Linked DNA regions of Homo sapiens: region 2 is linked to region 1. Evidence: promoter capture Hi-C in 16 types of primary human blood cells and fetal thymus (Javierre and others, 2016). All regions are on one chromosome and are shown on one strand. Each heading gives the region's core, a stretch centred on a gene start or on the middle of the fragment in contact. The rest is flanking DNA. Distances are from core to core; before and after follow the strand shown.

Region 1 (3,492 bases), core at 528-3,027:
CCCCTTCAATCTGGACCTGGTGCCTCCCTCAAAAAGGGAGGAGTGTGGGAGAGAGACCACAGGGGCCAGCACCACACAGTTTCAAGCGGAAAGCCCTTCCTGCTGTTTCCTGGCTGGGGGTCTATTACCTCCCTCTGCCGTGGTCTCCTTACTGTTAGGAGGCCTGCTGCCTGCAACAGTGGCCCACATGCTTAAATTAATGCACTGGTCACAGGGTGCCCATTGCGGCCCCAGTAGGATGGAGGAGGCTCCCCTCAATCCTACTGTCTTGTCATTGTGGTAGAAGAATCTGAGCTCAGGACTTACTTCTCTGCCACTGTCCTAGACCCCATTTGGTCTTGGGACCCACAGGTCGTCCAGGAAGCAGGTCTGTGTGTGCTCGGATCCACGTGGCTCTGACCCTCCCAGCACAGAGAGCCTGAGGGTCCCAGTGTGCACCACCACAGGTCAAGCAGTGCCCACCCTTGACCCTCAGATGGCAGACCACTCCCCCATCTCTGGCCAGAGCTGCAGGCCATACCAGAGGCCTACGCCCTGGGCGGGCACACAGGGCTGCCATTGTCTGCTCAGCGCCTGGCACCCTCTCGTTTGCATAGCCACGTGAAGAATGCAAGAGCGGGCTGGGGACTTGTCCCTTCAGAGGGGGGTTGGGGCTGTGGGGGAGGAAGCCAGCAGGGGTCTGCAGCAGGACCCTGCCTTCCCCCAGTGCAGTCCAGGAAGGGTGGGTGGGCTGTTGGGGACGGAGGGGGCGGCGGGGGGCTGGCAGGAGTGGAAGCAGGGTTGTGACATTCCTTCTGCACCCACGCTGCAGTGGGGCCCACTTGAACGTGAGGGGATTGCTAATGAGGTGGAAGAGAGTTAAACATTCCCCTACTCCTGAAGACCAAGAGAGACTGGGAGAGAGAAGAGGGAGGTGGGGGTGCTCGGAGCGGGCAGCCTGAACCCCGGGAATGTGCAGAGGCCACTGCTCCGCGCCAGGCTGCTCTAGAGTTGGGGGCCAGGGCCCAGTGTTCCAGTCCCAGCAGGAGCTACTAAGCCAGCCAGCAAGGGGATTAAGGGGCTGAGCAATCCGCCTTCCTTCAGGCTGATGCCAGAAGGTTGGGGCTGTCTCCCCAGCTCCCCACCAGGCCCCTTGCTGGCCGGCAGCCAGCGCTGGCCCAGCCTCGATAGGGCCCCTTTTCTGTCCCCCTCAGATCTCAAAAAGACCCCACAGTACATATTTCCTGGTCTGGCCTCCCTGATTTTTGGCACACACAGCTCCCAGGTACCCATGACCCCTCTTCCCAACACCCCACCGCTAGCTCAGCCTCCCCACATCCAGCTTCAGAGCCCCTGCCAAAAAGTTATCCTTGACATCTAACTCTAGTTTTACCCGCTGCAAACTGGCATTCCTTTCCCTTCTGTCCTAAAGTCAAAGGGCAGAAAACCCCAAGGGTTAGATCAGCCTTGCAAGAGCAAAGTCCATCCTCCCAGGGCTGGTGTTTGGGTTAGGGATTATCCGAATTTTAGGACACCCGAATCAGGTTCCTAAAGGGGTTTCCCTGTGGGGAAAGGCCCAGAGGGCAGCTGGGTCATTCCTCTCAGCCCCTCCCTTCCCTATCCCTGCGGAACGGGGCGGGGCAGGGACACCACCTGGGCCATGGGCCGGCCCTCCGCCCCCAGGGGGCTGGGCATGAGCTTTGCTGGGGACCCTGCTCTGGCTTAGGCGGCTGCTGTGGGCGGGCCCTGGCCTTTTCCAGCCCCTGGGCCTCCCCCTGCATTCTGGAGTCCAGAGCCACTGCCTTTGCTCCAGCCGCTGCCGCCGCACCACCTCTCCTTCTCTGCCTCTGACCCTCCTTCTCGCTGCTCCCCCTGCCCAGCTGCTCCTCCCACCTGGCCATGACCAAAGCCCCTGCTGGCACCCTGGCCCAGCTCTGAGTCCTGGGACCCTCGGTCCTCTCTCCTGGGCCATGGCCAACTCAGGCCTCCAGCTCCTGGGCTACTTCTTGGCCCTGGGTGGCTGGGTGGGCATCATTGCTAGCACAGCCCTGCCACAGTGGAAGCAGTCTTCCTACGCAGGCGACGCCATCATCACTGCCGTGGGCCTCTATGAAGGGCTCTGGATGTCCTGCGCCTCCCAGAGCACTGGGCAAGTGCAGTGCAAGCTCTACGACTCGCTGCTCGCCCTGGACGGTAGGCCCCAGGCCGGCGGGGTGGGAGATGGGAGGTGGGAACAGCAGGGGAGTCTGGAGCAAGTTTTCCTCACAGTCTGCTATCTGCGCTGGGCTCCAACCTCCAGCCTCCGCTCTACAATTCCCCCACTACTGCCCTGTGCCCATTGACGGTCCAGGCCAGCCTGCTGCCCTGTGGGAGGGGAGGGCTCTAGGGTCTGGCGGCTGTGGGTCCAGATTCCTGCTCTGTCACTATAACTTTGAACTAGTCACCAAACCTCTTCCCATTGTGATGTTCTCATCTCTAAAGGGGAATACTAATACCTGTGGCACTCTGAAAGACTCAGTTAAGACCCTTCATCCACTTCTCCCCACAGTCAGTAGACAGACACACACTGTATGATGCACACCTGCTCCCTAGTCCTGCTCCCAGGCCTGTGTGCCAGCATATGGGTGCATGCACATGCATGCAAACACGCATGCACACGCACACACGTGCACATGCATGCACAGACAGGTGTGTCTGCATGCAGTCCCTCTCCTTCTGGGGTGTGGAGATGAGCCTGACAGGCACCGCCGAAGTTCTAACTCTGGGGTGGAGGTGATCCACCTGCAATCTGCCCAGGAGCCCCCAGGGACAATCTGCTCCCCATGGGAGCTGGGAGCAGAGCGGCCTTCAACCAGCCCCATTGTGCCAGTTCAGGCAGGTCAGTTCAGGCAGGTCATCTAGCCTCGCTGAGGGACCCAGGTCTCCTGAGCACCCCCCAGGGCCCAGGATGGACCCATGCACCCGTGAAGAGGCAAGCTTCCAGCTGCCATGGGCAGAGGGGAAAGTGACTGTTGTCTGAATGGCTGCTGGGGAGGGGTTGCTGCGGGGCTCAGGCTGAGTTGAGCTGGGCCTCAGATACCCCCAGCTCTTCCACCTACCAAACCTGAGGGGACCCTGGAGCTGCCCTCAGCTGCTTGGGAGGATGGGCCAAGCCCAAGAGGGAGTCCCCAGGCCAGAAAGCAACAGCAGAGTGAATCATACTACCGGAAAAGCCTGCAAGGGCGAGTGGAGAATGGCGTTGACAGTGAAGGGGACTCTCACCCCCACACCCTGTCCTCATGCCCGGGCTGTCACTCCTCACTATCCTGCACCTGCCAGAAGGTGGTCTGACCCCCCAGGCCAGCTCCTGCTCAAGCCCCTCTCAAGCTGGGCTCCTTCCACCGACCCCAGGCACCGACCCAACCCCCATCCCCGCCAGCCCGACTCAGTGTCATCCCGCCCACCCTAGGTCACATCCAATCAGCGCGGGCCCTGATGGTGGTGGCCGTGCTCCTGGGCTTCGTGGCCATGGTC
Region 2 (3,565 bases), core at 555-3,054, 270 kb after region 1:
GGGGTAGAAGATATAATTTTTCCCTTCTTTATAAGAGCATACATTTCTCAAATTTTCTATAATGTCATATGTTAATTTCTAGAATTAGGGAAGAAGTTTTAAAATGACATGCCCACAAAAGGAAAAACAACTCTGTTTGAGTTGGAGCTCTTTAAACTCATGTCTAAGCTGTTCATTTTCCTTTTCATCATAACCATGAAAAAATGCTTCTCTTCCCTCTGTTAGGTTACAAATACAGTTTGCATAATTTTCCACCTAAAAAAAACACATTTTCTTACTTTTAGTCCATGGCTCATATTTTAATCCATATTAAAGGTCCGGGAAGTGAAAGAGCAATTAAGAGATCACCATTCTATCATGACTATAATCTGAGAAATCAACAGAAAACTCAGCTTTCCTCAAGTGTTGGCATCTGGCTCTAAACTCCCTTCCAGCTGTCTTACATTATCATACACTATGTTTCCCATAGGTATGATGACATGTAACCACAAATTTCTGGGACAGTCCCAATCTCTAATATTTTTTTCTATCAACATACCAGGTTTTAAATCAAGTTTCCCTCTCTGTGGTTTAGGAAATATGGTCATGATATCCATGAACAGAAAAAAATCTACATAATAATTAGGTTTATACTGCTATGCTGAAACTGATGGCTAAGATGATTAAATGTTAACAGGAGATTACATTAAAAATTGTTGTGTATTCTTTGAAAAGCTTGCAGTTAATATAACGGCTTCACAAAAAGCTACTTTTATGTGCATAATAACAGGTAGAAAGCGAATATGCTCCAGGCACTATATTAAGTACATCAAATATTTAATTGTCTCCACAACCACATGGGACTATTATTCTCCCACTTTGGAGGTGAAGAAGCAGGCTTAGAGAGGCTAAGAGACTTGCCTTGTCACATAGGGAATAAGGGGAGGAGCTAGAATTCATACTCTGATGGGTAGAAACCAGAGACTGAGTTCTTAGTACGCCAAAGTGCTTAGAAGTAGACTACCGAAATAACTGAATTGCATTTTGGTGAATTCTTTGGAAGCCTATAGGAAAACTCCTTAAAATATGTACAGAAAGATGAATAGTATAGAAGGAACATAGGAATCACAGTTCAACTTTATCACTTCCTGGCAAACTTTCGTTTCCTCTTTAAAATGGCAGGAACAATATCCATTTCTAATGATAATAGCTATCATTTATTGAACACTTGCTAGGTGCCAAGTACATGGGTAATTTATACACACTAACCTGTATAAATCTCACAAATCCCTTTGAAGATGCTATTAACATCTCTATCTTACAGACAGAAATTTCAAGCTCAAAGCAGTTGAGTAACTTGCCCAGAGTTAAACAGAAAGATAATGCTAAAGGCAACTTTTCACCCCCATCTGCCTAATGTTAAAGTTCACACTCTATGATGCTATACTGCTTTTCATTCTAAAGGAGCTGCATTCTTCTTTAGAATTTGGAGATTGGATTGTCCTTTAAGAATTAAATTTAAAAATGTTACCTGTGTGAAGCTGAGATGTGAAAACATAGCAGAGTGATTCCCAGGCAACCTGAGATAATTCATTAGTTCATTTAAAGAAAGTATGTTGATGAGTATTGGAAACATCCAAGAGAGTAACAATAGGGCCAAAAAAAAAATAGCTTTATCTACTCCTCTAAGCACTAGGTGCCTGGTCCTAGGATATGAGGTCCAGAAACGAGGGTAGATATAGATAGCCCTATTGTGGAAACCTGGCTATCTCAGCCAATGCTATAAAAAGTTAGAATCATTTGTTCACCAAGTAAACATCTAATTAAAAGTTGGCTTCCCACATAATGTGCCTGTAAGAGAATACATCAGCCACCAAAAATACATGTTTAGTTCCTCTGGCAATTATATTTCTTATTGTCAATTAAAAAGGAGGTGTCTCATCTCTATGACTTTGGTTAATACAAGCCCACCTTTGAGAAGCAGATCCACTGATACTATGCCGACATTAGTTTCCAAGCCTTCAAAAAAAAGAGTCACCTAGAAGGTCAGCTCCTGAGAGAAGGATGACTTTACCAAGATAATGAAAGCTACCTGGAGCAGTCCTGTTTAGATGTTCAGCCAGTCATCACTGGGCAACATCCTATACATGGAGTCTTAATGGAAACCAACACAGACTGTTGCCATGTTTCATTAGAAAAAAAAAAAGGTCTACACGTGGGTGCTTTTCAAACTATACAGTGATAGCCAAACATTAGTTTTTAATATGTCAATTTAATGAAGGGCAATGAACAAAATCACAGGTGTCTTTAAAATTCTATGCTATTAGTTCTCACTTCTTTTGTTTCACCCATGTGCTTCACTATAAGCTCTTCTACATCTGTGGTAGCAGTCCTCAGCCTGTCTTCACTGTGCTGGCTGGAATAAGCACCAAACAGAGTTGTTCTTCTGTAGTAGCAAGGGGATTGATTTCTTCTTTTTCAAGATGGTGAAGTATGTCTTCTAACTGAACTTTTCCCTTGATAGAAGAAATAAGCATATGTATATGAACACACACACACACACAACTGAGGATGCAAGATATCTATGTGGGTGCCACCTTAGTCTCCTTATTAGAGTACTAGTCTTTAGGGTACTAGCAATAGAAAGCTAGTAAGCTACCTGAACCTTCATCACACTTATGTATGTGTATGTATATATATCTTGGAAAATCCAAGATATTTCTAAAGAACAAAATATAGCTGGCAATACACATACAAAGCTGCTATGTGAGGAAAACTGAAAGCAGGAATAAAGAAGTCTATGTATATATGACTAGAGTCAGACTCTCTACAATGTATATTTTACTTTTCCTGTTGTTATCTAGTTATGAGCACTTAAATGAAACAGCTGGTAATACCGAAAAATGTAAGCTTTGAACAACTGTGTATCTTCTAAAATAACAAATGACATGATATACTTAATGAAAATTATGTACAATGGAAAAAAAAAAAGCTTTTCTGTCTGTTCTAAAGTTTGCAACTTTTATCTGAAAAGTCTCCCAAAGGGCTCTTGTTTCTTTTTTAAAGTCCAAAGAAGTCTTTGTTCCTTTTATTGCATATTTAGAAATAAAAGGATTCCTCTGGAAGCTAGAGAGGCCCCTAATTCTATACTATCCAGGATTTATTTTACTCACAGAATATGTCTTATAATTTATGTTGACTTCTCATTAATTCAGTTCTTTTCTGCAACTTCTTGGTCTAAGCCTGCTATCAATATCAATTTTTTTAGGTTGCAAGTAATCATGACATAACAGTTTGCAGTATGACAGTATATGAAAGATAAATATCTGCTGATCGATGAAGTGATATCTGTGTTACTAGAGCCACTAACTATTTTTTTTTCTTTGAGATGGAGTCTACCTCTGTTGCCCAGGCTGGAGTGCAGTGGTGTGATCTCAGCTCACTGTACCTCTGCCTCCTGGGTTCAAGTGATTCTCCTGCCTCAGCCTCCTGAGTAGCTGGGATTACAGGTGTGTGCCACCACACCTGGCTAATTTTTGTATTTTTAGTAGAGACGAGGTTTCACCATGTTGGTCAGGCTCGTCTC

The links. Contacts are between HindIII fragments. The CHiCAGO score rates a contact against its expected background, and 5 or more counts as called.
Region 2: a contact is called between a fragment that was not itself captured here and the fragment with the promoter of CLDN19 in region 1, in 4 of 17 cell types (M1 macrophages, megakaryocytes, M0 macrophages and 1 more). The highest score is 6.5, in M1 macrophages.

What each region holds. Positions count from the first base shown.
Region 1 is chr1:42,738,521-42,742,012 of GRCh38, reverse strand. CLDN19 (claudin 19) reads left to right here and starts at 1,777. Exons shown (of 5, transcript NM_148960.3): 1 at 1,777-2,172; 2 at 3,428-3,492. The coding sequence starts at 1,950. RefSeq lists an enhancer at 1-420. The HindIII fragment of the contact is 4,341 bases long and covers 1-2,957 here.
Region 2 is chr1:42,472,052-42,475,616 of GRCh38, reverse strand. All of the region lies in intron 1 of CCDC30 (coiled-coil domain containing 30), which reads right to left. It also overlaps a transcript of PPCS not described here. Among named protein-coding and RNA genes, the nearest start is that of CCDC30, 11 kb to the right of the region's middle. The HindIII fragment of the contact is 2,175 bases long and covers 717-2,891 here.